Regions from separate parts of the Homo sapiens genome. Here all the other regions are linked to region 1. Evidence: promoter capture Hi-C in human tissues and cell types (Jung and others, 2019). All regions are on one chromosome and are shown on one strand. Each heading gives the region's core, a stretch centred on a gene start or on the middle of the fragment in contact. The rest is flanking DNA. Distances are from core to core; before and after follow the strand shown. Region 1 holds the start of PARVG (parvin gamma). Region 2 overlaps LOC124905132 (a long non-coding RNA gene). Region 3 overlaps LINC00229 (long intergenic non-protein coding RNA 229). Region 4 overlaps LINC00207 (long intergenic non-protein coding RNA 207).

The links. The method cuts DNA at HindIII sites, captures the fragments that hold promoters and counts their contacts. A contact is called where the count stands out against the background at its distance.
Region 2: a contact is called between a fragment that was not itself captured here and the fragment with the promoter of PARVG in region 1, in 1 of the 25 tissues and cell types used here (lymphoblastoid cells).
Region 3: a contact is called between a fragment that was not itself captured here and the fragment with the promoter of PARVG in region 1, in 1 of the 25 tissues and cell types used here (dorsolateral prefrontal cortex).
Region 4: a contact is called between a fragment that was not itself captured here and the fragment with the promoter of PARVG in region 1, in 1 of the 25 tissues and cell types used here (small bowel).

The regions. Positions count from the first base shown.
Region 1 is chr22:44,175,346-44,182,174 of GRCh38, forward strand. PARVG (parvin gamma) reads left to right here and starts at 5,580. Exons shown (of 14, transcript NM_022141.7): 1 at 5,580-5,840; 2 at 6,397-6,572. RefSeq lists enhancers at 1-157, 5,567-6,297, 6,298-6,829 and silencers at 4,841-4,890, 6,061-6,190. The HindIII fragment of the contact is 25,740 bases long and covers 1-6,829 here.
Region 2 is chr22:44,661,561-44,668,389 of GRCh38, forward strand. It overlaps LOC124905132 (a long non-coding RNA gene), which reads right to left. Exons shown (of 3, transcript XR_007068127.1): 1 at 6,771-6,829; 2 at 6,024-6,109; 3 at 440-3,439. Among named protein-coding and RNA genes, the nearest start is that of PRR5, 37 kb to the right of the region's middle. The HindIII fragment of the contact is 3,376 bases long and covers 2,069-5,444 here.
Region 3 is chr22:44,613,078-44,619,906 of GRCh38, forward strand. The region is part of intron 3 of LINC00229 (long intergenic non-protein coding RNA 229); the gene reads right to left. Among named protein-coding and RNA genes, the nearest start is that of LINC00229, 8.9 kb to the right of the region's middle. RefSeq lists enhancers at 5,026-5,527, 6,629-6,829. The HindIII fragment of the contact is 8,753 bases long and covers 1-6,829 here.
Region 4 is chr22:44,569,523-44,576,351 of GRCh38, forward strand. LINC00207 (long intergenic non-protein coding RNA 207) reads left to right here. Exons shown (of 4, transcript NR_028411.1): 2 at 978-1,066; 3 at 1,854-1,970; 4 at 2,517-2,927. Among named protein-coding and RNA genes, the nearest start is that of LINC00207, 3.6 kb to the left of the region's middle. RefSeq lists an enhancer at 4,691-5,230. The HindIII fragment of the contact is 7,273 bases long and covers 1-6,306 here.

The DNA of each region.
Region 1 (6,829 bases), core at 4,330-6,829:
AATCTGAGAATCTCGAGAAGGAAGGGACCTTCTGAGGTCACCTCTGTTCATCCTTACCCAGGCAGGAATCCCCGGCCACCGCAGGGACGGGCATCTCTGTTCCTTCCGCAAGGACAGTGCCCTGGGGTTGGGCAGCTCAGAATTAGTGAGGTTTTCCGTGGAAACCCACTCTTTGGGGTTTAAATTTGATTTAATACACCATCATCATCTTCACCAGGGTGAGGCTTTGCCCTGGGGCAGGGGGTGGGGAATCCCTGTGTCCAACACAGTAGGACCTGGAGCATTCATTGGGTCAGTGAGTAGTGGGAGCCTGCTGTGTGCCGCTGAGGCGTTGGGTGTGGGGGGGTGGGGGTGTGCTAGGGCACAGGAACCAGGAGAGAGTGGAGTGGCAGGTGGACAACACAGTGAGGCCGATGAAGAAATGCAGCTGGGGGCAGGTCTGGGACGAAGATGGAGCAGAGGGCTGCATCTGGGCATAGAGGCGGGTAAGGAGGTCTCTGACACCAGGGAAATGGGGCAAAGGCCACATATTCTTCCAGTCCCCAGCCCCTCGGATTTAGGTGGCCATGTGGCTGGTCCTAACAGCCGGGACATGGTCACACCGGACAGCTTTTAGGAAAGACTGTCACCTTAAAGTATGCAACACCTTTGTGGATGTTTGGTGTGTTTTCGAAACATCCACACAGGGTTCTGATGTTCTCGATGGCTTTGGAATGTAGTGCTAGATTTCCTCCCACAATCTCATTCTTAAAATGTATTGCCAAGGTGAGCCTGAAACACTGTGCCGGAAAGCAGGGAAGCACAGTTGTCCCTGGTATCCTCTGTGGAGTGAATCCGGGACCCTGGAGGATACCAAAATCTGAAGATGCTCAAGTCCCTGATATCAAACTGCACAGTATTTGCATATAACCTACGCACATCCTCCTGCATACTTTAAACCAGCTCTAAATTACTTATGATACCTAATACAATGTAAATGCTATGTAAATAGTTGTTACACTGTATCACTTAGGGAATAATGACGGAGAAAAATTCTGTATGTGTCTGGTACAGATGCAATTTTTTCTTGATATTTTTAATTCGTGGTTGGTTAAATCCATGAATGTGCAACCAAGGATATGGAGGGCCAACTGTACTCAAGGAATGATGGGGACATGTCAAAAGGACAGAGGCACAAACAGCGTCCACATTTTGGATACTTCAAGCATCTGAAGGAGCAATGTGGAGTATAACACATTGGATTTTTTTTTTTTAATTCGTGCACTTAGAGTGATATTAAACTAGGATGAGAGCAAAGGCTTTTTTTTTTCTTTTAACATTTTACTTTTATATAGTTTCAAACCCGCAGAAAAGTTGCAGGAATACTACAAAGAGTTCCTATGTGTATTAATCCATTCTCATGCTGCTAAAAGAGACATACCCAAGACTGGGTAATTTTAAAAGGAAAAAGGTTTAGTGGACTCACCGTTCCACATGGCTGGAGAGGCCTCACAATGATGGTGGAAGGCGAAGGAGGAGCAAAGGCATATCTTACATGGCGGCAGGCAAAAGAGTGTGTTTAGGTGAACTGTCCTTTATAAAACCAACCAGTCTCATGAGACTTATTCACCATCATGAGAACAGCATGGAAAAACCCGTCCCCATGATTCAGTTACCTCCCACCAGGTCCCTCTCATGACACGTGGGGATTATGGGAGCTACAATTCAAGATGAGATTTGGGTGGGGACATAGCCAAACCATATCACTATGTTTACCTGGAGACTCATGAATGTTAACATTTTTACTTTATCCTCTTCACTCTCTTTCTGTCCCTGCCTATCTGCCTCTCTCGATATAATAATAATGATATATATTTCTTTAGACGCACACATTTACCTGGTGATATATATATTTTCTGAATCTTTGAGGGTAAGTTGCATGCATTATATCCTCTTCACCTCTAAATACATCAGTGTAGCTTCCTAAAAGTGAAGACATTCTCTTCCATAATCTCAGTATGTGTCATAATCAGGAAATAACATTGATACAATGGCATTGTCTAATCTACAAACCTTAATTGTGTTTTTTTCCAATTGTCTCAATGATGTCCTTTATGCCAAAATAAGAGGCAGGACAAGGCATTGAATGAGTTGTCCCATCTCTCCAGCCTCCTGTAGTCTGGAGTGGCCCTTCAGTCTTTCCTTATGTTTCATAGCCTTGATTCTTTGGAGAATCCAAGCCAGTTATGTTCCAGAATGTCTTGCAGCTTGGATTGATCTAGTATTTTCCTCGTTATTAGATCCAGGTTATGCGTTTTCGGTAGAAGTGATGTGTTCCTCTCAGCGCATCATTACCAGGAGACATGTCATGTTGATTGTTTTACTTTCTTATGATGTTAATTTTGATTACTTAGCATGTGAGCACACGTCTGTGGTCCCAGTTACCCAGGAGGATCACTTAAGCCCAGGAGTTCAAAGCCGCAGTGAGCCGTGATCACACCACTGCACTCCAGTCTGACAGAGTGCACTGTTTCTATTTTTAAAAAATATATATTACTTAGTTAATATAGTGTTTATCAAATTTGTACACTAAAAAATGTAACTCTTCTTTGTAATCGATCAATATTTATGAGGAAAGAATTTTCACTTTTGGAGTTACCTTTCCATCAGGAATAACTAGAAGCCTCCACAAAACACAGGAAACAGTTACTTCAGACATTGGACATGCCTTTGCTCCCCCTTCACCTTCCACCATGACTGTGAGGCCTTCCCAGCCATGGTGGAACTGTGAGTCCATTAAACTGTCTTTCTTTATAAATTACCCAGTCTTGGGTATGTCTGTTTTAGCAGCATGGAAATGGACTAATACACATAGGAACTCTTTGTACTTTCCTGCAGCTTTTCTGTGAGTTTGAAACTATATAAAAGTAAAATGTTAAGAGGCGAGTCAGATCTGTGATCCCCAAGAAAAGGGTGGCAAGTGAGGTGAGCCCTACCCTGGTCTTGGCTTTCTGCCTGGACATAATTCCTGGACTGTGCTGTAGTGAGGGGGACCCAGACAGAGCCAGGTCTCACTGATTTAAGGAGACAAAGATCAGAGCTTGCAGAGATTACGCTTATTAAAAACAGACATCAAAAGAATATTTCTGCCAGAAAAATTCCAACACTTCTTAAAGAAATGCAACAAAATTCAGCACGCGACGACATAAAAATTTAATGTCTAGCATTCAATAAAACATTATTATAAAGAAGCAGGAAACTGTGACCCACAATCGGGAGAAAAATCAGTCCACAGAAGCAGACCAGGAAATGACAGAAGTGATAGATTCTACAGGACAACTGACCTGGATGTTTAAAAAATGTTAGTGTCGTGAAAGATTGTTCTAGATTACAGGGCTCTAAAGAGACATGAAAACCAAATGCAATCACATGTGCTGTGTGATGCCTGAATGGATCTTGGATTAAAAAAAATACAGCTGTAATAGACATTTTTTGAAGCCTTGGTGAAGTTTGAATGTGGATGAGATATTAGAAAACCTTCTATCAATGCTAATTTTCTTAGGTATCATAATGGTACTGTGTTATGCAGGAGAATGTTTTTAGGAGAAACATTCTGAAGTATTTAGAGATATCCCTAAAGTGATGTGATCCCTGCAATTTATTTATTTTTTATTAATTTTTAAAAATTTTAGTTGTGGTTAAAAATACACGTAACATAAAATGTACTGTCTTAACTATTTTTAAGTATACAGTTCAGTAGTGTTTGGCATATTTGCACAGGTATATTTCACACCGTGTCTCTGAAAAAAAAAAAGGCTGGAATAATTCCCTTCTATCCATGCCTTTCTCTTAATTGGGGTTTGGGGGTGCTTGGACTTATCTCCATGTTACTCTTCCAATTCTTAGAGTCCCTCTCTTCCCCTAAACAATGCTCTACACACAAGAGGCTTTGTGAGTTGTGGATTTAGTCTGTTGTAACTCCACACCATACAGGATTAGATTTCGCATCTGATTCTTACATCAGCCCTGCAGCCCCAAGAGATGAGAGATAGCTTTGAGGGCTATCAGAGAACTCCCTGTATTCTGCACATACCTTGAGCTGAGAATGTAAAGCCCTGGGACTGTCCTTTTCTTGCTTTAAACTCTTTGGTGTGATGATAACAAGCTCACCCCACAGTCCTTAGATAACCTGTGCTCGTATTGCGTATGGAAGCCACAACTCTGCCAAAGCCACAATTTAATAGGTACTTCGTTCTGAGTGATGACAGGTAATTATTTTGCCATCACAGGCTACGATCTATTAGAACTCCATTCTCTAACAGTTACTAGGTCCCCACTGCCTTTAAATCAACCAGAACAAGTAACCAATCCCAGTTCCCATCCTGGAGGTCGTGTTGCCTGCAATTGTTTCTGGTAACAAATCCGAAGTTAATTGGGATTCAGTTGCCGATGATTAGAGTCTCTTCAGTTGTTTGGAGGAGAAAGGAATCTAACATAGGAAGCTGTGTGATTCTCAAGCTGTTGGAAGGCTGGAGGCAGCGCCTCCAGCAAGGACTCTTGGAAGAATACTGCAGAGCTGGCTCCTGAAGGAAGCTGCCGAGTCAGGCTGGCCCTAGAAGCATGCTTTCTGGGTTGAATGCTTTAGGTTCACCTCTGCAGATCCACTCCCCACCATTTTCTCTCCTCACATCTATGGGCCGCAGCAGGGGACTTCTTTTCTCTGGCTTCTGGCTGGATGTGGGCAGGGGAGGCCCTGGCAGGAGGGAGGAGAGTGAGGCTTGGTCATTGATTCCTCCAGCTGTGCCCTTCTGCTGGTTCACCATGAGCTGGCTGTGTCCCTCTACCAAAGGCCACAGCTCCTATCCCGAGGCCCCTCTTAGAGCTTCAGTGATTCTGTTCCTGGGCTCTGCCACCCACTCCCTCCTTCACCCTCTAGGTTTTGAAGAAGTAACAGCTCCCCATGTTGCTAGCCTGGGGTGTAGCACTGTCTCTTCTGGGTTCCTTTAACCCTGCCCCAGCTGTCCCTTTATTAAACAGTCTTCAGTTAGCACATGGGAATATACCGTCTCTTTGCTGCTGGGACTGTGACTGCTGCTACATCTATGTGGCTGTGATCCAGAGTCAGAAGCCACCACCAGAACCACTGTGTCCAGAGCTGGGCTGAGCCTGCTACACACGCCCCAGCAAAATAGGTCCTGCACGGTGGCTTCTCTCCCCACCTGTTACAAGCCCCAGTCTAGCACGGGCACTTCAGAATGGCAGGGACTGACTCATGTGCCTCAGTGTCTTCCTCTGTAATATGGGGGTGATGATTGTACCTACCTCACAAGGAAGTTTCCAGTAAAATGAAAGCCCTTAAAATTATGTTTGTTTCATCACCAATGACTCCATAAATATTAGCAACAATACCAGTACTAAGTTTTGTCATTTTTTATTAACTTCTTGTAAACGACCCTACTTTCCTGCTCTCACACACTCCTTACACCTGCATCCCACCTGATTTAGCCACTTTCTGCCTAACCTGTCAGAAAGGGTAGATAGCTTCCCAGTCACCTGTTGCTAGGGAAACTCACCATTTCAGCCCGGATGGTGAAGATTCCAGCTTGAGAGACCAGCTCGGGTCTGAAGTGTTTCTCTATCTACTGTGCTGAGATCTCTCCTTCTCGAACCCTGCTATGCCTTTGCATACGCTGTTTTCTCCACCTGCCACGTTCTCACCCCTTCTTCTTCCACTGCAAACTCCTATGCAGCCGTCAAGGCCCCATTCTCCTCTGGAAAGCCTTCCCGATCCCCTTGGCAACAACCACCACCAATATTTATTCACTGAGCCCACTTTGTGCCAAGCATTGTTCTAGACACGGGTATGTAACCGCGATTGAGAGAGACAGACCACGCACAGCCTGGATTTTATTTTAAGAGCTATTGGGTGCCGTTGGTGGGTTTGAGTGAGTGGGGTCAGGAAGTGACTCACTCCTCCGAGGGCTTGTGGGAGCCTCAGCTCAGGGGCGGGCAGGGGGCGTGGGGAAGTCTGCAGCCGAGAGTCCAGGTAGGAGTCTCCTGCGTGGTCCCGGGAGAGGAAGGGGCCTGGCCCGGGGCGGGGTGTGGAGGTGGGAGGACGGCGGTGCGGGATGGAGGGTGGAGGCCAGGCTGACAGGGTGCTGGTGGTGGGTTGCGGGGGTCGACCCCAGGCTCTGGCCTATGTAGCTGCCATTTTGGAGGTGAACAGCCTGCGGGGAAACTGGCATGGTTTGGGGAAGGCGGGGAGAGGGGGAGAAATGAAAGCATTGAGTTTAAGTGGCCTGCAGAACCCCGGGGGCCCAGGCGGCACGGCGGGCGCTGGGGCTCCGGGCAGAGCTTTCTGGAGGTTTGTGGCAGCTTCACTTTCACGGCATCCACCCCCCTCGGGCCCTGCCGCAGAGAGGAGGAAGCTCCTGCCGGCTGAGCGGGCCTGGAGGAAGTGAGCAGCGGGGCTCCTGCCTCCCGGCCTGGTCCCCGAAGACCCCAGAAGAACCCGGAACTTGCTTCCATTCGGAATCCAGGGACCACCCTTTGCACTCAGTAGGCCTTTGTTTTCCTGCGTGGAAAGCGGTTGGGTGAGTTCTGGCATCGGGGCCACCATACTTGAGTGTTGGGGGTCACGGAGGGAGGGGCCCAGACACCACCTGGGAAGGATCCCAGAGTGCAGTCCCAGCCCAGGCCACCCGGGGAAGGGAGTCGGTAAAGTGGGACCTTGAGTCCCCACGGCCCCTCCGGCTGCCCCTGCTCAGAGGCTGCTCGGCGTCCTCCCTCCCTGTTCTACTGAGGAGTTGCCGCCTCTGAACTTCAGCCAACCCCTCCGTCTCCAGGTGAA
Region 2 (6,829 bases), core at 2,507-5,006, 480 kb after region 1:
AGGAGTGATGCAGAGATGGGGCACACAGGTGTGGTGGACAGATGTGGTGCTCAACTATGAGGCACAGGTGAGGCATTTATATGAATCTGCAAGGTATCTTTCATTCCCCAGATGTTCACCAAGCACCTACGGTGTGCCAAGCCCTGTGCTGTATACACAGAGCTGACACAGAGCCGAGAGCCAGGATCCTTGCTTTCGAGGACTTTCCACCCTAGAAGGGAAGAGAAGGAGGTGAGGAGGGCACAGCAACAGCTGCTCCTGCTTGTTATGCTCTGGAATTCACCCCTGCGTGGCCAGGGCTGAGGACCTCCCTTCACCCCTGCATGTGAAGTGCTGCCACCAAGCTGAGCATCTGAGACCAAAGGTCATGTCTGAGAAGCTAAAACGCAAAAGAAAAGCAGAGCACACGATGGGGAAAATACACACAAAGGTCATGTCGTTATTATTCAGAAAACTTTATTTCCCCTTCAAATCACAAAATGCTACACAGACACTACCTTTCTTTTTTTTTATTATACTTTAAGTTTTAGGGTACATGTGCACAACGTGCAGGTTTGTTACATATGTATACATGTGCCATGTTGGTGTGCTGCAATTAACATTAGGTATATCTCCTAATGCTAACCCTCCCCCTCACCCCACCCCACAACAGGCCCCGGTGTGTGATGGTCCCCTTCCTGCACAGACACTACCTTTCAATCACAGTCAGATCTGCAAGTCAAGAGGAAGGGCCCTTCAGCAGCTGCAGGGGGCGGGGTGGTCAGGGTGGCAGGGGTGAGGCCTGAGAGTCGAGGTAGCAGGTGTTCCAGGAGCCCCAGGCAGAGGCTGAGAGCTGCTTCCCTGTCCGGCCTGTCATCAGAAACTGGCTTCTGAGGTCATTTTCACCTCTCTCAGGAGACGCTGCAGCCCTGTTTGGGACAGAGTCTCCATCTTCCTTACACACCCCTGGCTGGCACGAGTGTCCCATGAAAGGTGCCCTGTGGGCACAAATGTGTGTAAAACTGTAAAGCACATGCTTCAGGTGGGTAAGCACCTCCAGGAGGATGGAGCAGTGTTTGCCTGGGGAGGAGCCCATAGGGGCTTCCAGGTTCCAGTTCTGCCAGTGAGTGCTGGCGACGCTGGTGAGCTTGGGTGAGCTTTTTCCACATTATTCAAGTTCTTTTATACAGATAATATTCTTTGTAACATTTTAAGCACTCTATGGAAGGAAAAATAATCTCGAAGCACCCAGGCAATCTCACAGCCCGGGAGCTCTGGATGGAAGGCCGTGGAACAGGGGTCCCATCCCGGGCAGAGAGGCTGGGTGGCAGAAGTCCCAGGCTCCAGTCACAGCCTTGCCGGGTATCCTGGTTTCTGGTGGCCGCTCTAACAAATAGCCACAAACTTAGAGGCTTAAAACAACACAAATTTTGGCCAGGCATGGTGGCTCACACCTGTAATCCCAGTACTTTGGGAGGCCGAGGCGGGTGGATCACTTGAGGTCAGGAGTTTGAGACCAGCCTGGCCAACATAGGGAAACCCCATTTCTACTAAAAATACAAAAATTAGCTGGGCGTGGTAATCCCAGCTACTCAGGAGGCTGAGGCAGGAGAATTGCTTGAACCTGGGAGGCAGAGGTTGCAGTGAGCTGAGATCACACTATTGCACTCCAGCCTGGGCAACACAGCAAGACTCCATCTCAAAAAAAAAAAAAAAAAAAAAAAAAAGAAAGAAAAGAAAGAAAAAAAAGAAAAGAAAAGAAACCCATAAATTTCTTCTCTTACAGTTCTGGAGGCTGTGGTGTGGGTGGGGCTGTGCTCCTTCAGGGGCTCTAGGAGAGAATCTGGTCACTCATTGCCCTTCTGGCTTCCAGAGGCACCTGCATTCCTTGGCTTGTGGCCATTTCCTGCAGCTTCAAAGCCACAGAGGTGGCATCTTCCAATCTCTCTCTGTTCCCATTGTCATTTCGCCCTTTTCTCACTCTGACCCTCCTGCCCACCTCTTATAAGGACCCTTGTGATGATGTCAGGCCCCCTGGGAGAATGCAGCACCTTCTCCCTATCTCAAGACCCTGATTCACATCTGCAAAGTTCCTCTCGCCATAAGGAGTGCGTGAGGCCACAAATTCACAGGCTACAGGGATCAGGACATGGAATTCTTTGAGGAGAGGGCCATTATTCTGCCTAACACATGGTGTGGCCCTGGGTTAGTCACTGTGCACTGTCGGGCCTGTCTCCCTGACTATGGTGACAGGGGACAGGGTAGGGTCCAGGGGTGCCCCCCAGTGCACAGAGCCCTCAGACAAGTCAGGTTTTCACTCAGTCCTTCAATGGCACCAAAGGCCCTCTTGGCCTAGGCTACACAGGGGCAGTGGTGGGAGGTACCCAGACGCCCCCATCAGAGAACTACATTTCATACAGGGCTTTAGATTCACAGAGCTCTTTTCTTAGCTGCAGGCTATAAACAAAGGCTCATTAACTATGTTTTAACGGCTCCATCCACCAATGGATAGGCAAATAAATGAAAGGATAAACATGTGAAATTAGCAAGTGCAATGGTCCCCATTGCAGGAGCAAGGAGCCTGGGGTCCCTCAAGAAGGGACTCAGCCTTAGTATTCAAGCTGCAGAGCCTGTGCCCTCTCCCTCCGATACATTGCCACGGTGCCCCCCTCGCCCTCAGGGTGTCAGGACGGTCCTGGCACGTGGTGGGTGCTGGCCACATCTGCTCACTCAGAGAAGAAGCGAAGGAAATGTGAGGTCAGGCCGCCACTGTGGCTGGGGCAGGGGCCTCACTTGAGCCTCCCAGCAGCTTCCCACAGTCTCACGTGACTGAGCAGCAGAAACACACACAGGCTGGGTTTCCTGCCAGGCCCCAGAGACATGCTCAGCTCTCACAGGGAGGAAGAGGCCAATGGGCTCGTGGTCACTGCCAGAGCTATGACAGGCACCCGCGTGCCTTTGAGGGGGTCCAGGTCTCAGCTGCCTTCTGGGTCACCTGAGGCACCTTCATGTTGACCCCAGTCCTGGGCCCCTCAGAGGAGAAGAGCTCAAAACCCTCTGAAAGCCAGCAGCATGGGCTCCAAGCCAGGGAGCCTGGGCTCAACCCTGGCTCTGTCAGGACTTGCTGTGTGGTCCTGGGCATGATGTATAACCTCTCTGAGCCTCAGTTTCCAATTCTGTAGAGTGGCAACAATAATATCTATCTGTTGGCTGGGCACGGTGGCTCACATCTGTAATCCCAGCACTTTGGGAGGCTGAGGCGGGCGGATCACGAGTTCAACAGATCAAGACCATCCTGGCCAACATGGTAAAACCCGTCTCTACTAAAAATACAAAAATTAGTTGGGCGTGGTGGTGCACACCTGTAGTCCCAGCTACTCGGGAGGCTGAGGCAGGAGAACCCCTTGAACTCAGGAGGCAGTCGTTGCAGTGAGCCGAGATCACGCTATTGCACTCCAGCCTGGTGACAGAGCGAGACTCCATCTCAATAATAATAATAATAATAATAATAATAATAATAATGATATCTATCTGTTACAGTCAGGGTCCCAGCAGAAGGCAGAGCTGACCAGGTGGTTCATGTTCACAGAGGCGTGGGCAGGTTAGGGAGAGCCAGAGGCCAGCAAAAGAGGGAAGCTGCTACCAGCCCTGGGGCTGCAGAAGGGAGGGAAGGAAATGGTGCTTCCCCCGGAAGCCAGTGGAGCTAAAGCCTGGCAGAGCATCCGGGAAAGAGCTGTGGTCAGCATGCAACCCGCAGGGACTGCAAGGGTCAGCAGAGGGCAAGAGGAGAAATGCCTCATTCTCTCCGGCTGATCTCCAGCAACTGCCTCCATGGGTCAAATGTAACCAGGTGGGGGATGCCGTCCACCCAGGTCAGCCTCAGGGAGCACAAAGTAGGCAGTGAATGGATCTGGGGAGCAGGGGGCGCCACAAATGACGTGGCCAGAACCACGCACCATGGGGTCATGTATTCATTTACTCACTGATTCTTTCAACAAATACCTATTAGCCACCTTCTAATACGTGCCAAAGACTGTTTCCAAACACCCAGAGATACTTTGGGGAAGAAAAGAGACAACTCTCCTCTCTCTCAGGGAATTCATGAATTTCTGAATAAACTACACCATAAAGAAATAACCAGCCGGGCGCCGTGGCTCACGCCTGCAATCCCAACATTTTGGGAGGCCGAGGTGGGAGGATCACCTGAGGTCAGGAGTTCAAGACCAGCCTAGCTAACATAGTGAAACCCTGTCTCCACTAAAAATACAAAAAATTAGCCAGATGTGGTGGCGCGCGCCTGTAATCCCAGCTGCTCGGGAGGCTGAGGCAGGAGAATCGCTTGAACCCAGGAGGCAGAGGTTGCAGTGAGCCAAGATTGTGCCACTGCACTCCAGGTTGGGCAACAAGAGTGAAACTCCATCAAAAAAAAAAAAAAAAAGAGAGAGAGGGAGAGAGAGAGAGAGAGAGAGAGAGAGAGAGAGAGAAAGAAATTTAATGAACATTTTTTAAAAAAAAAATCCAATTAGAAAATAGGCAAAAGACATGAACACACCTACCACTCATAGGATTTACAGATGGTAAATAAGCTCTCAAGATCGTTTTGAATCTTTAACATCAATAGTCGTTAGAGGAAGGCAAATTAAAACCATGAGATCTCACTACACACCTATCAGCATGGCAAAAATAAAACACAGGGACAAGACGAAATGCTGGTAGGGATGCAGAGAAACTGGATCACTCAAGCTTTGCTGCTGGGAAGGCAAAGTGGTACACTCTGGAAAACATTTTGGCAGTTTCTTAAAAATCTAAACATGCAACTCCCATACGACCCAGCAATTACACTCCTGGGCACTCTTCCCAGACAAATGAAAACTTATGTTCACACAAAAACCTGTACACAAATGTTTATAGCAGCTTTATTGGTAATAGCCCCAAACTGGCAATCAACCCAGATAGTCTTCGACAAGTGAATGGCTAAACAAATTATGATGCACCCATTCCATGGAATGCTGACCACTCCACAATAGCAAGGAACAAACTACTGAAACACAAAGCAACCTGGAAGAATCTTCAGGGATTTATGCTGAGTGAAAAAAGCAATCTCAAAAGGTAACATACTGTATGACTGCATTTATATAACATGCTTGAAATGATAAAATTACAGAAATGGAGAACAGATAAGTGCTTGCCAGGAGGGAGGAGGGAGGGAGATAAGCACATAAAAAGTCCACGGGGGGGTCCTTTGCTGATGGAATGTTCTGTACCTTGATGGCATCTATGTCAATATCCTGGTTGTGATATTGTAGTATAATTTTGCAAGATTTTACCAGTGGAGAAAACTGGGTCCAAGACATCTCTACTGTTTCTTATAGCTGCATGTGAATCTACAATTATCTCAAAATAAGAAAGTTTAGGCTGGGCGTGCTGCCTCACACCTGTAATCCCAGGATTTTGGGAGGCCCAGGCGGGTGGATCACCTGAGGTCAGGAGTTTGAGACCAGCCTGGCCAACATAGTGAAACCCTGTCTCTACTAAAAATACAAAAATTAGTCGGGCATGGTGGCAGGCACCTGTAGCCCCAGCTACTCAGGAGGCTGAAGCAGGAGAACCACTCGAAATCAGGAGGCAGAGGTTGCAATGAGCCAAGATGGCACCACTGCACTCCAGCCTGGGTAACAGAGCGAGACTCGGTCTCAAGAAAAAAAAAAAAGAAAGAAAGAAGGAAAGTTTAATTAGAAGTGGGGGAGGTCCTAGTGGTCACACACCAAGAGGCTGGATTAGATGACCTCAAAGGTCCCTCCAAGGCCAGGACATCCCTCTTGGCAGCACGGGGCTCAGAACAGCTCCACCTCCTTCTGGCACCTCTTGGGCCGTTTCCAGCCCCACCCCAGTACTCGATCCAGGCACTGTCTGCCCAGTCTAGATGCCACCCAGACACTTTAGGCCCCTCTGTCCAGATGCCCTCTCCTCCCTCTAGGATGCCCCATCCTGCAGTTCAGGCAGAGCTGCTCACTCCCAGGGCCCTATGGACCCCATTAGAGTACCTGGGGTCTGGCCGGGATGCTTGCTGTCCTGAAATCTGGTCACCAGGAAGGCCGGCCATCTGATCTGCCTCATGTCAACACTGTTTCTGGGGGATGAGTGGCTTAGCGTCAAACAAGCACAATGATGGAAGGGGAAAAAAAAAGCTTTACAACTGAATATGGACACAAATATTTGCACAATTGCATTCTAAAACATTAAAACAATCACTACACCAAAACACAATAACCATAACCATCACCGCCCGAATGCCCACAGCCTGGCCTCTGGTACAGGACTTGCGGCTTCTACCAGGCACTGACTGTCAATCCTTTCGGGGATTCCTGGGACAGACACCACTGCTCCCCGCCCACTGCCCCCACCACAGCCACGTACCAACGGAGAGGTACTTAAACAGGGTGAGGCTGTTTAAGTGAAGAGTGAAAAGAAGCCCTTTTCGAGACACTGGGGTGTGGGATGTGGGTTGTGGGGTGCAGGATGTGGGGTGCTGGATGTTTCCACCAGGGCAGTTCTTCTCAAACTTTACTGAACTCTGGAACCACCCAGAAGGCTTGTTAAAATAGGGGGCCCAACCCCGAGTTTTGCTTCTGTAGGTCCGGGGTGGGGCCAGGGACTCTGCACTAACGGAGGCCACACTTTGAGAACCACAGCCCTGGGCTGTTTTTGGTGCCAGGCCCATTCGTCTTCCCCTCCCTCCCCGCTCCGCCCGCGGCTGGACCCCGATCCCCGGGACAGGGACTGAGTCTGACCGTCTGATTTGTCCTCCCGGCTTCTAGCGCCCCGCTCAGGTCGGGGCTTGGGGAGGGGG
Region 3 (6,829 bases), core at 1,952-4,451, 440 kb after region 1:
AGTGCTGGGATTAAAGGTGTGAGCCACCGCACCCGGCCTATTACTTCTTACAACTGTGTGTGCATCTACAATTATCTCTATGTTTTTAATTAACATTTTCTTTAAAGATGGCAAATTAAAAAAAAAAAAGGCTGTCACCACCCAGAGGAACCTAATGGGACATGACAACTAAATGTCATGTGGGATCCTGAGTGGGATCTTGGATCAGAAAAAGGATGTTAGGTTAAAAACGAACAAAACTGAATAAAATATGGGCTTTTGTTAATGAGAATGTTAGCAACATTGGTTTAATACTCGCATCAAATGTACCATGCTGATGCAAGATGCTAAAAATAGGAGAACTAGGGGCAGGGTGTGTGGGAACTCTCTGTATTATCATCTTAATTTCACTTGTAAGTCTACAAATGTTCTTTAAAAAAGTCTACTTAAAATTTTTTGAAGATACCAAATAACTACTTTATAAAAAGGTTTGAAAGCACCTGTGAAAGCTACATTGAGTCCAACCCTTTGACCCAGCAATTCCACTCCTAAATATATACCCAAAAGTAATGAGATCTTGTGTCCACCAAAGGCATATAAAATAAAATTCAGTCAGGCATGGTGGCTCATGCCTGTAATCCCAGCACTTTGGGAGGCTGAGGCGAGTGGATCACCTCAGGTCGGGAGTTCAAGACCAGCCTGGCCAACATGGTGAAACCCCATCTCTACTAAAAATACAAAAATTAGCTCGGCGTGGTAGAGCATGCCTGTATCCCAGCTACTCGGGAGGCTAAGGCAGGAGAATTGCTTGAACCCAGGAGGCGGAGGTTGCAGTGGGCCAAGATCGTGCCACTGCACTCCAGCCTGAGTGACAGAGTGAGACTCCACCTCAAAAAAAAAGAAAAGAAAATTCATAACAGCTTTTTTCAAAGTAGACAAAAACTGAAAACAAACCCAATATCCATCAATAGGAGAAGGGATGGTAAATTAGGTATATTCATACAATAGAATAATACAAATAAAAAGGGAACAAACAACTGCTCCTTTTTGTAAATGGGCAGATCTTGTGAGAATAACGATAAACAGAAGAACTCAGACAGAAATGGCTCTGGCTGGGATGATTCTGGGGACGTGAAGCTCAAGAACAGACAAAACTACCTGCAGTGCCAGAAGCCGTGGCACCACCAGGGTAGGAAATGTGCTGAGGGAGAGAGAACACAAGGACACCTTGGCCAGGTGGCAGCCACAAGGGTGTATAGATGTGTATGTATGTTATCATACATTTTTTATAGCAAAAATAAATTTTGAAAAAAGATCACACATGTTATGGACTGAATGTGTCCCCCCAAATTCATATGTTGAAGCTTTGAGACCAGGTTCAGTGGCTCATGCCTTCAAACCAAGCACATTGGGAGGCCAAGGCAGGAGGAGCCCTTAAACCCAGGAGTTTAAGACCAGCCTGGGCAACATGGCCAAACCTTTTCTGTACAAAAAATGTTTTAAAACCTTAGCCAGTGTAGTGGTGCATGCCTGTGGTCCCAGCCACCCAGGAGGCTGAGGTAGGAGGATTGCTTGAGCCCAGGAGGTTGAGGCTGCAGTGAGCCATGATTACACCACTGTACTCCAGCCTGGGCAAAAGAGTGAGACTCTATCAAAAAAAAAAAAGAAAAAAAAAAGAAGAAGCTAACCTCCAATGTGATAGTACAGTATATGGAGGTGGAGTGTTTGGGATGTGATTAGGTTTAGATAAGGATGGGGCCCCTGTGATGGGATTAGTGGCCTTATAAGAAGAGGAAGAGACACTGTAACTGCCCTCTTCCTCCTCCTCCCCTTCATGCTCCTCTCTCTCCCTCTCCCTTGTGAGGACCCAGTGGCCATCTGCAAACCCAAGGAGAGAGCCCTTGCCAGGACCTGAATCCACCAGCCCCTCGAAGTTGGGCTTCCAGCATACAGAATTATGAGAGATGAACATCCTTTGTTTAAGCCCCTAGTCCATGTTATTTCGTTCTAGAATCCCAGGCAGGCTAAGTCTACACAGCAGGAAAATGTTGAAGCCAAGTAGGAACCCAGAGGTCTGGTTTGCAGAGCTTTAACCGTGACGACCCCATGCTCATTTTCCCAAAGAAGACTCTAGAAACCTGAACCCGCTCCCCCCATCAACTCCCTGCTGCCCCAGCAAAGGGCTCCAGCTGCTCTGGATGATGTGGAAGCCAGGGCGCCATTGACATTTTGTGCAAGGTAACTCCCTGTGGTGGGGCCTGACCTGTGCATCGCAGGCCCCAACCACGCCTCTGGCCTCTACGCAGTAGCGCCAGCAGCCCACCTCCCCACAACTGTGACAACCAGAAATGTCTCCACACGAGTGTCTCCTGGGGGGCAAAGTCGCTGTGCTGAGAACCGCGGCTGCATGGGAAGTTGGCACACAGCCGGGAGAGTCGGCACCAAAGAGGAATAACAATTAAAGCGGCGATAATAAATGCAACAATAACAGTGACTGTAGAAACAACAATAATTTTGATAATCACAACCATAACAAAAGTGATCGCAGTAGCGGGGATAGCACCACGCACAAACTCACAATGCAACAGTAGGGATAATAAACAGCATGACACGGCTAATGACAGCACTAGTGTGGGGGTTTGCTGAGAGTGGGTGCACTGGGGTCCTGTCTCTCCAGCCCCCTGTGAAGACCCAGTGGCCACCTGCAAACCCAAGGAGAGAGCCCTTGCCAGGAACTGAATCCACCAGTCCCTCGAAGTTGGGCTTCCAGCATGCAGAAGAGGGCAGTTATGGTGTCTGAGCCAAGCTCAGAACCCTCCCCCCCGTCTCTCCAGCTCCCTGTCCCTGTGGAGGTGACTTCACCCTCTCTGAGAACAGGATCCTCCTCTATAGGTGGCCAGGTGGGTCAGCTGAGGTCATCCCTGGAGAGCACTCAGCCAGGGGCCCGGCTTCCAGGGAGTATGGTAAATGGTCCCTGCACCTCCCGGGGGGGATCTGTGCCCAGGGAAAGAAGAGGTTTTTGCCCAGGCCTGCAGGTTGGGCCCTGAGCATCAGGAGGGATCTGAGGATTCTCCCTGGTGCTTGGTTTGTCTCCAGAAGGAGCCCAGGACTCTGGAGACTCGGGTTCCAGTGACTCTGCCCACACCTGGCTATAGGACTCGGGCCAGCCCCTCCACCTCCAGTCTCGGACAGAGAATGGAAAAACGAGCTCTGACCTTTAGACTGACCTCCAGTCCTGCTGTCCTTGGAGCCCTCTCCCTTCTGGTCAAGTCCTCTTTTTTAGGGACACTTCTCCCCAGCCCCGCTTATGCCCAGAATGGCCGGTGACAGGCCAGTGTAGCCACAAATCCACGGGGAGCCAAGCTGGGGGTTCTCCGTGTCCCTAGTAAATGCACCTCCCTTGAGCAGTTTCTCAACAGGAGGACTCCCAGTGCCTGCTAAGGAAACAGAGAGCCAGGCCACCAGGACACCTTAGAGATCAAAGGCCACCTGTTCCTAATTAAGCAACAAAGTCGCCCTCTCCACATCTTAGCACTGCATGGGGTGCCCACGCTGGCCCCACAGCTGAGGCTCCCGGTCCCCACCCCATCAGTCCCCAGGTGCAGACACAGGCGTGCCAGAGCCCAAGTCACCGGGCCACCTGGGAACCTTTGCTACCCGCTCTTCTGCCCGGCAAAGGAATGGGAGGAGGAAAGTGTAGGCAGGGAGGGCTTCTGACCTCTGGTTCTGGAACCTTCCACCCAACACACCTGCACACCTGCTCACACCCGTGAGCCAGGAAACAAAAGTCGGGGCAGGAATGACCAAGATCAGTCAGGGAGGGAGGCGGCCAGGATGAGCCCCCACCCAGGCCAGCCCGGGAGGAAGGGAGGCAGGATGACTCCCCACCCAGGTCAGCTTGGGAGGGAGGCGGCCAGGATAAGTCTCCACCCAGGTCAGTCCGGGAAGGAGGGAACCAGGATGAGTCCCCACCCGGGCCAACCCGGGGCCCCTCTCCACACGGCCACTTCCTGTTCCCAGAGGCCCTGAGACTGCCACATCCACCCTCCCTGCCCCACACATGCACCACCCACCAGACACACTGACACACCACACACATACACACAGGTATGCACACACGCACACACGCACACACACACCACTCCACACTGGATACACACACCAGACAGCCACACCACACGCGTACACACAGGGGCATACATACACACACACACACACCAGACACACATTCACCACACAGAGACACACCACACACGTACACACAGGCGCACACATACACACACACACACACCAGACGTACATTCACCACACAGACACACCACACATATACACACAGGCATGCACATCCACACACACACCAGACACAGATTCACCACACACACAGACACACCACACATGTACACACAGGCGCGCACATACACACACACACCAGACACATTCACCACACACACCACATACACACACCAGACACACACACACGACACACACAGACACACCATACATGTACACACACACACACCACACAGGCACACCACACACGTACACACAGGCGCACACACACCACACCAGACACATTCACCACACACACCACATACACACCATGCCAGACACACACATGACACACACATTCACCACACACACAGACACACCATGCATGTACACACACAAACACCAGACACAGACACACCACCCACGTATACACAGGCACACACACACAACACACCAGACACATTCACCAAACACACACACCACACACACACATACCTCACACACACCACACTGGACACACACACAACACACACATTCACCACACACAGACATACCACACATGTACACACACACGGCAGACACAGAAACACCACCCACGTATACACAGGCACACACACACACCACACCAGACACATTCACCACACAAACACACACACACCACACACACACCACACTGGTCACACACAACACACACATTCACCACAGAGACACACCGCACATGTACACAAAGGCACACACAGCACACACACACCACACGCACATGCACAGCACACATGCCACATAAACACACACCAACCACACATGTGCACACACACACCACACACAGCCACCACACACACCACACACCTCATGCACATACCACACTCATTCATACACACCACACACACACCACACACCTAGGCGGAAACACTGGCACACGCATTCACACCCAGATGTACTCAAGCCACACACACACTTTCCAGCACTGGGTGCAGCAGTGAGGAGCAGCACGAAGCTGTGCCCAGCAGACAACAGAAAATTAAGGTGACACGACCATACTCTACGAAAGGAAAAAGGCACCCTGTCCCTTCAGCCAGGCTGGGCCAACCCGGACCAAGGCTGCTGTGCACCCATCCTCCCCCCAGCACCCTGGGGAGGTCCAGACGCACCCACCTGCCCCAGCAGAGCAGCCTCACGTGCGGTGTCCGGGCTCCCCGAGGCCCAGAGCGCCCGTGGCTGGCCTGGGGCTGCTGGACGGCGGCTTCTCCAGGTGCAGAGGGAGAAGGGAGGGGCAGAGGCAGGGGCAGGGGCAGGGGCGTGCATCCTGCCTCCCATGCTGTGCCCGCACTCCTGAGGGGCAGCCGCAGCTTTTGAATTCCCTGGGGCTACAGAGAGGTCTGGACTGGAGAGTGCAGACAAACAGACGGACAGACAGACCGACAGACAGATGGACAGATAGACAGGGCTCCTGGGCGGGAGCTGGGGGAGACGCAGGGGGCCTCTCTGGGTGGATTTCTCAGGGGTGGGGGCTCCAATCGGCCAATACCCTTTCTGGGCAGCCCACCGAAAGTGTGGTGAGGTGTTGGGTGTGGTGGAATTTCAAGCAAAGGGGCCTGTGGAGTGAGTGTGTGGGTGTGTGTATGTGGTATATGTGTGTGTCTGTGTAAGGTGTGTGTACTGTGTAATGTGTGTGTGTATGTAGATGTATGTGTGTCCATGAGTGAAGGAGCATGGTATGTGGTGCGTGGTGTGTGTCTATGTGCGATGTGTGTACTGTGGAGTATGTGTGTGTGTGAGTGTGTGATGTGTGGTGTGTGTCCGTGTGAGGTGTGTGTACTGTGGAATGTGTGTAAGTGTGTGTGGTGTGTGGTGTGTGTGTGAGGTGTGTGTACTGTGGAGTGTGTGTGTGTGAAGTGTGTGTGGTGCGTGGTGTGTGTCTGTGTGAGGTGTGTGTACTATGGAGTGTGTATGAGTGTGTGTGGTGCGTGGTGTGTGTGTGAGGCGTGTGTACTGTGGAGTGTGCATGTGAAGAGTGTGTGGTGTGTGGTGTGTGTCCATGTGAGGTGTGTGTGCTGCATGGTGTGTGTGTGAGTTGTGTGTACTGTGGAGTGCGTGTGTGGTGTGTGGTGTGTGTGTGAGGTGTGTGTACTGTGGAGTGTGTGTGTGTGAAGTGTGTGTGGTGCGTGGTGTGTGTCCGTGTGCGGTGTGTGTACTGTGGAGTGTGTGTGTGTGAAGTGTGTGTGGTGTGTGGTGTGTGTCCGTGTGAGGTGTGTGTACTGTGGAGTGTGTGTGTGTGTGAAGTGTGTGTGGTGCGTGGTGTGTGTCTGTGTGAGGTGTGTGTACTATGGAGTGTGTATGAGTGTGTGTGGTGTGTGTGTGAGGCGTGTGTGCTGTGGAGTGTGCGTGTGAAGAGTGTGTGGTGTGTGGTGTGTGTCCATGTGAGGCGTGTGTGCTGCATGGTGTGTGTGTGAGTTGTGTGTACTGTGGTATGTGTGTGAAGTGTGCTGCATGGTGTGTGTGTGAGTTGTGTGTACTGTGGTATGTGTGTGAAGTGTGCTGCATGGTGTGTGTGTGAGTTGTGTGTACTGTGGAGTGTGTGTGG
Region 4 (6,829 bases), core at 1,420-3,919, 390 kb after region 1:
TTTAAAAAACAAAGAAGCTGATTGGAAGTGCTGAGCCCTTGGGTAGCGTTTTCTGACTGCGGTCTCCACTGCAGGTGATCTGGCGGATTGCTTCCCCGGGGGGTCACTGGGGGTCAGAGTGTGAGGATTTCCACTAGGAAGGTCAGTGGAACTGACCCCAACCAAAATGATCCCCCAGCTCCCCCCTGCTGCACGTGAGGCCTGGCTGCCGGTTTTCCGGGGGCTGCAAGGAGAAAGAGGCGGGGGTCTCCAATACTCAGTACATGCCCTGCTTTTGGAGTGGCATCCCCCAGTCCAGAGGCCTCTGCCAGACCCTTTCTTGATAATAAATCTTGGGGTTTCTGCCAGGCTCAGGGAGGGGCAATCTCCCAGTTGTGTAAGCAGTGGGAGTGGATAGCTGTCTCTGTCTCTGTCCCTCCCGTGAGAGGAAGACTAACTGCTGTTGTTTGAAACAATCCTCCTTCACTCCCCTCCAGAAATATCTGGCATCTCCATCCTCCCAGCCCATTGTTGCTTCTCATCTTTGCATGCTGCTGGCCGGCCATGTTTCAGCTTCTCAAGCTCACCTAGTGGGTTACGGCTCATCCACCAGGTTTCCAGTCTCCAAAATGTTGGTGCTTGGGCCTCCTCCCCTTTTCTCTTTCTGCTTGAGGGTAATGTCCGTAAAGTGATCTTTACCATCATTTTAGTGAGGGTTCAAGAAGAGGCAAATGTACATGTGTGCATCTGTGCCACCATCTTTGTCAGAAAGTCCAGTCTTTGCACCTTTTATCCTCATGGTTGCAATGTGGCTGCTCCTGCTCTGGGCATCAGATCCACATTCCAGGCAGGAAGAAGGGTGTGTGCCCCTGAGACCATCCCCTTTTATGGGAAATTAAACTGGCAGACTTCCTCTTATGTCCATGGCCACTCCTAGCTGCAAGGGAACCTGGTAACACCTATTTTTAAGGGGGCAAACTTTCACTCCAACAAAACAGGTTCTGTTTAAAGAGGAGAATGGATGGTTACACATCCTGCTTGGGATCCAATCACTGAACCAGAGGGGAACACCGTGCATGATGGGCTGGTAAGGCGTGGGGGTCAGTACAGCATGACACAGAAGGTGAGCTGGCTCCTTGAGGGAAAAACAAAGTGCTGGCCCCAGAGGCAAGGAAGGGTTGCTGGCGGGCAGAGAGGACGCTGTCCGGAGCCCACAGTAGATTCTCCTTGATCATTCACTCCCAGTTCCCTTCCTGCTCCTAGTTCAGTCCCTGACTCCTCTTCTCAGTGCTGTCACTGTCCCTGTCCTGGGACCAGGGTAGGGGATGGGAGGAGAGGTCTGCACGTTGCTGAGCCTTGTGGAAAGGTGACCGTGGACCTCTGGGAGGATGATCTCATCACTTTCTGAAGGAGGCGTCGAGCTGAGATGCTAACAATAGCCAAGCACGATGCCGGCCTGATTGGAGAGGCTAAAAAAAGCAGCTCATTCCAAAGCCTCATCAGGGAAGAAAAGGGCCACGAAGGCAGGTTTGCAGGGCTTTAGGGAGGAGGGGGAGAGGGATGCAGAGGGATGAACTGAGTGGCCTGAGTCTCAGCACAGCTGTGGCCATGGGCTGCCTCCATGTCCAGGAACACCAGGTCTGCCATGCACCACCCACCTGCCCCCATGTTTGCACAGGGCACCGGGGAAGACCTTCAGCCCTACTGGGCTACCCCTTGAGTACCCTCTCCTCCCACATTGGAAGGTCTTCTGCTTCCTGGAGCTTGGCCTGCCTCGGGAGGAGGAGAAAATGGTCCATGTCCCCAGAGAGCCCATGATGTGCCGGCCTAGGTGAGCACTCTTCGCACCTCATGCCATGGAACTTTTGCCACAGCCCTACCCACTTTACGGATGAGGAAATGGAGGCTCGGGAGATGAAGCTGGCAGACTTCCTCTGGAACTTCCTCTGGACATCTGGAGGGACGTCCTGTCAGCAGAGCAGGCTGGACTGGTGAGTTTCCTGCTGCTGGGAGTCCTGGCTAATGTGTTCAGCCCCCACTGACCTCTCTGTGCCCTTGATGTTTTTGAGCCTCATGGTCTGCCTCCCACCAACATCTTCTGTCTCCTCCCCCATGCCCCAGTGGCAGCTGGTGTAGAGGGTGGCAAATGACAACCTCAAGGCCAGAGAGGACCATAACATGCCCACAGCCACACAGCCAGTAACAGGCAGAACTAGGGCTGGAACCCACATCGCCTGCCTTCTGGCTTCTTCCTTACACCATAGCACAGCAGAGACAGCATCAGAGGCGAGGCTGGACAGGCCAGCTAAAGGAGGGTGCTCGGACCCTGCCCCATGGCCAGCAGCACCATGCCTAGCTTTCCGCCATAAGCCTAGAGAGAAATAACGAGGCCCGAACTTATCTGCACTGAAAAGGCAAAGTTACAAATAAAGAACGGCTTCAAGCCCGATGATTGGAAACTTAGCTGCGTTGCCATCTGTCGCAAATGCCACCGCGTTCTTCGTAACCCCCGATGACAATTTCCTCTTCATTTTCAGCTTCACAAAGAGGATGCAGCCCCACCTCCCAGCGGGAGTCAGTTCTGCTCTGAGACGTGAGGCTCAGAATCAGATGAAGACTCCTGCTGCTGCATCTTGAAGATAATGATGCTGTTGCTCCCGGCTGGAACCACAGCAGTGGCGATGAGTGAACAGCCAGCAGAGTGGAGCGGCCACACTGATACAGGTGAGGCTCCAGCACTGCCGCAGCCCAGGGCCAGGCAAAACCGCCTTCCTATCCCCCGGGAGCCGAGGCCTCCGAGATCGGCGCTGGGAGGTCGCACAGTGCAGGCAAATCACACGGACCTCAGAGCAGGGTCCCTGGCCGTGAAAACTCAAAAGACACAGTCTTTAAAATAAGGACAGAAAACTGTATTTAGTGCCACAATAAAGCTGTGTCACAAACTACCCAAAACTTGGAAGCTTCAAATAAGTGTTTATTTGACTCACAGTTCAGCAGTTTCAGCTGGGCTCTGTGGCGCGATTCTTCTGGTCTTGGCGGGGCTCACCCACGTGTCTGGTGGGCGGCTAGCTGCTGGCAATGAGCCTGAGTGCTCCTCACCCTCCCAGGCTGAGCTGGGTGTGTCCTCGTGGCAATGGCAGAGGTGCAGGAGAGCAAGCAGAGGGTACACAGCCCCCCGAGACTCAGCTCAAGGTGGGCCACAGCCACTTCCGCTTTGTCCTGTTGACCAACATGGATCACAGGGCCAAGCCCAGAGTGAGAGGTGGGCAGGCCAACCCAGCCCCGGTGAAACGGGCAGCTCCAAAGAAGGTGGGAGAGTGGGGCCATCAGTGTGACCTAGCGCCAATGCCTGTCCCCAGGGCTATAATCTGGAGGATTAAGTGAATGAAGGGTCATGAAAACACCTTATGAACAAGTGCAGAGGTCTCCCACATCCAGTCACCAGTGGAGGCTGCCTTGGTGAGTCCAGGTGCCATCTCTGCACCGCGTCCCAGCCTTCAGCCTCTGGCCCTCTGGGCCGGCCTTCTCAGAAGAGTCAGCTTGCTCATGCTGAAGCACAATTCTGATCATGCCACTTCCCTGCTTTAAGCTCACCCACAGCTCCCCACTGCCCTCTGGGCCTCTCTGATTCATCCTGGGCTTGCCTCTTGGGCCTCAATGTCCCCTTTTATCCCCTGCCTCAGGGCAACACCAACAGAATGGGACCTATGCTCTCTCCTGACCATGGACCTTTGCACAGGCAGCTCCCTTGGCCTGGAATTTTTGCCTCTTATTATTTCTTTCTCTTTTTTTTTTTTTTTTTTTTTTTTGAGGTGGAGTCTTGCTCTGTCACCAAGGCTGGAGTGCAGTGGTGCCATCTCAGCTCACTGCAACCTCCGCCTCCTGGGTTCAAGTGAGTCTCCTGCCTCAGCCTCCTGAGTAGCTGGGATTACAGGCGCCCGCCACCACACCTGGCTAGTTTTTGTATTTTTAGTAGACACGGGGTTTCACCATGTTGGCCAGGCTGGTCTTGAACTCCTGACCTCAGGTGATCTACTCACCTCAGTCTCCCAAAGTGCTGGGATGATAGGCGTGAGCCACCAGGCCCGGCCTGCCTCCTATTATTTCTGCACCCATCACTCAGGCCCCTGCAGCCTTCCTTGACCCTCCATCCAGGGTCAGGTGCCTCCTCTTGGCTTCCACCACCCAGGGGCTTCTCCGTGTCCACCACAGGCCACACTGTGGAACTGCTTACCCTGTCTCTGGAATGCCAGAACATTGTCAGATCCATCTTCAAGCTCCCATTGCCCTGCACAGGGCCTGGCACACAGTTGGTGCCTAATAAATGTTCCCTCCACCTTACCCTATCTGATCTTTGGAGCGCTGGGTGAGGGCAGCATCATGAGGTTGAGAAGCAGGAGAAGGCTTAAAGATGGGCTGATTTATAGATGGGGAAACTGAGGCCCAGAGAAGGAGAGGAGCTTACCTAGGGATACAGAGAAAAGTTATTCATTCATTCATTCACTCAACAAATTTTTATTACACACCTACTGTTTGCTGGGGAACATAGAAAATACAGAAACCCCTGCCCTTGTGAAGCCCACAGTCATCAAATAAGTCAAGAAAAAAGCAAATATAAAATTGCAATTGAGACGTGCTACAAAGAGAATTACTCAGAGCTGGGAAAGCCTTCCTGGCAGAGATTGCCAAGAGCCTGCCCAGTGCCCCTCCTTCCCTCTCCTTAGAAACTGACTCTGCCAACCGGGTGAGGTGACTCATGCCCGTAATCCCAGCACTTTGGGAGGCCAAAGCGGGTGGATCACCCAAGGTCAGGAGTTCAAGGCCACCCTGGCCAACATGGCAAAATCCCGCCTCTACTAAAAATACAAAAAAATTAGCCATGCATGCTGGTACAAGCCTGTAACCCCAGCTACTTGAGAAGCTAAGGCAGGAGAATCCCTTGAACCTGGGAGGCAGAGGTTGCAGTGAGCCGAGATCACTGGGGGTGGGGAGGAAGAAGAGGAGGAGGATGAAGGAGGAGAAAGAGAAGGAGGGAGAGGAGGACCGGTAGCTGAATGGCATGAAGATGACACCACTGCAGGATGGGCCCCAAGGACCACGCCACAGCGGGGGCAGCCGTCATATTGGTGGGCTTCCTGATGGATGGTTCATGTGGGATGGGATTGTTATGGTGATAGGGCAGGCTGCTGAGCCGGAAGGGGCTTGTGAAGGGAACTGCAAATCGGAAGAGGACGGAGCCCACGGTGGGAGCTGGGTTGAGACACCCATCCTGCCCTCCAGGTCCACAGTGCCCTCCCCAGCCCCTGGGACGTGTAGGGTGCCCCCGCCATAGCGCGACTGCCCATCCCCAGAACTGGGAGAGCCGAGAAGCCCTCTCCCCAAGACAGAGCCCTGCGGTCCCCAGCCACAGGCCCTAGGGAGTTCCAAAAGCCTCCCAGGCAATTTACCAGAGCATGTAGCCAGCTAATAAGGTGACTGGATCCTTTGTTCAAAAGTTATCTTTAGACAAGAGCATTTATCAAGTTTAATTAACGTGTCACGGGCTGCAGTGTGAGCGATGGCTCTGAAAGCAGCCCTGATAATACTAATTTTTCTACATTAATGCCAACTCGGCACTGAGTCCCAAGCAGGAAATAGACCGTCAATGCTAACACCACCGAAAAAATAGAGATTTCCCTCCCTAAATCAAATTAAATGTGTTGTGGATGCCTGAGTGGTGTGTGGGAGGCTAAGGTGGGGAGCCTGGGAGGCTCTGGCTGAGAAGCCAGGGTGCGTTGTAAGCTGCCCTGCATCCTGTGGGCTGGGCACCTCCCACCTAGGTCCCACCTGGAGTGGAATCTTTGAGGCAGGTTGGTGTCCTTTCCCCAATTTTACAGAAATAGATGCTGGGGTTCAGGGAGGCCCTGTGAGTCATCCAGGCCACACGGTTTTATAGAGTCTGGCACCAAGATCTGTTCTTCCTCCATCTCACGAGACCCCCAGGCACATGTAACTGCTCAGTCAGTAAACGCTCGCCCAGCACTTACTGTGAGCAGGCACGATTCTAGGTGCCCAGCACCCAGCAGCAGGCAGAGCAGACAAGAGCAACTTCTCCTGGAGCCAATGTGCTGCTGGGACACAGAGGAGGAGGAGGATGACAAGGAGAAGGGGGATGGGAGAAGGAAGAGGAGGAGGAGAAGAAGAAAGAAGGGAGGAGGAGGAAGAAGAGAGAAGCAGAGGAGGGAAAGGAGGAAGAGGAAGAGGGAAAGGAGGAAGAGGAAGAAGGGAAGGAGGAAGGGGAAAGAAGAGGAGGAGGGGGAGGAGAAAGAGGAGAAAGAAGGAGAGGAAGAGAGGGAGGAGAAAGGGAGAAAGAGGAGGAGGAGGGAGGAAGAGGAACAAGAAGGGAGGAGGAGAAAGAGGAAGAAGAGGAAGAAAAGAGGGAGGAGAGGGAAGAAGAGGAGGAGGAGAAAGAAGGGGAGGAAGAGAAGGAGGAGAAGGGGAGAAAGAGGAGGAGGAGGGAGGAAGAAGGAAGGAGGAAGAGGAGGAGGGGGAAAAAGAGGAGGAGGGAGGAGGAAGAGGAGGAAAGGGAGGAAGAGGAGGAGGAGGAAGAGGAGGAGGGAGGAGGTAGAGGAGGAGGGAGGAGGAAGAGGAAGGAGGAGGAGTAAGAGAAAGAAGGAGGAGAAAGAGAAGGAGGCGGAAGGAAGAGGAAGGAGGAGGAAGAGGAGGAGGCAGAGAAGAAAATTAAGTACTGCACCTGCACGTGTTGCCATGTGCTAAGAAGAGATTAGAACAGGATAACGGTCAGGAGAGATGTGAAGTGCTGAGAGGCCACGGGAGATGGGGTGGCCAGGGAAAGCCCTACAAGGAAGTG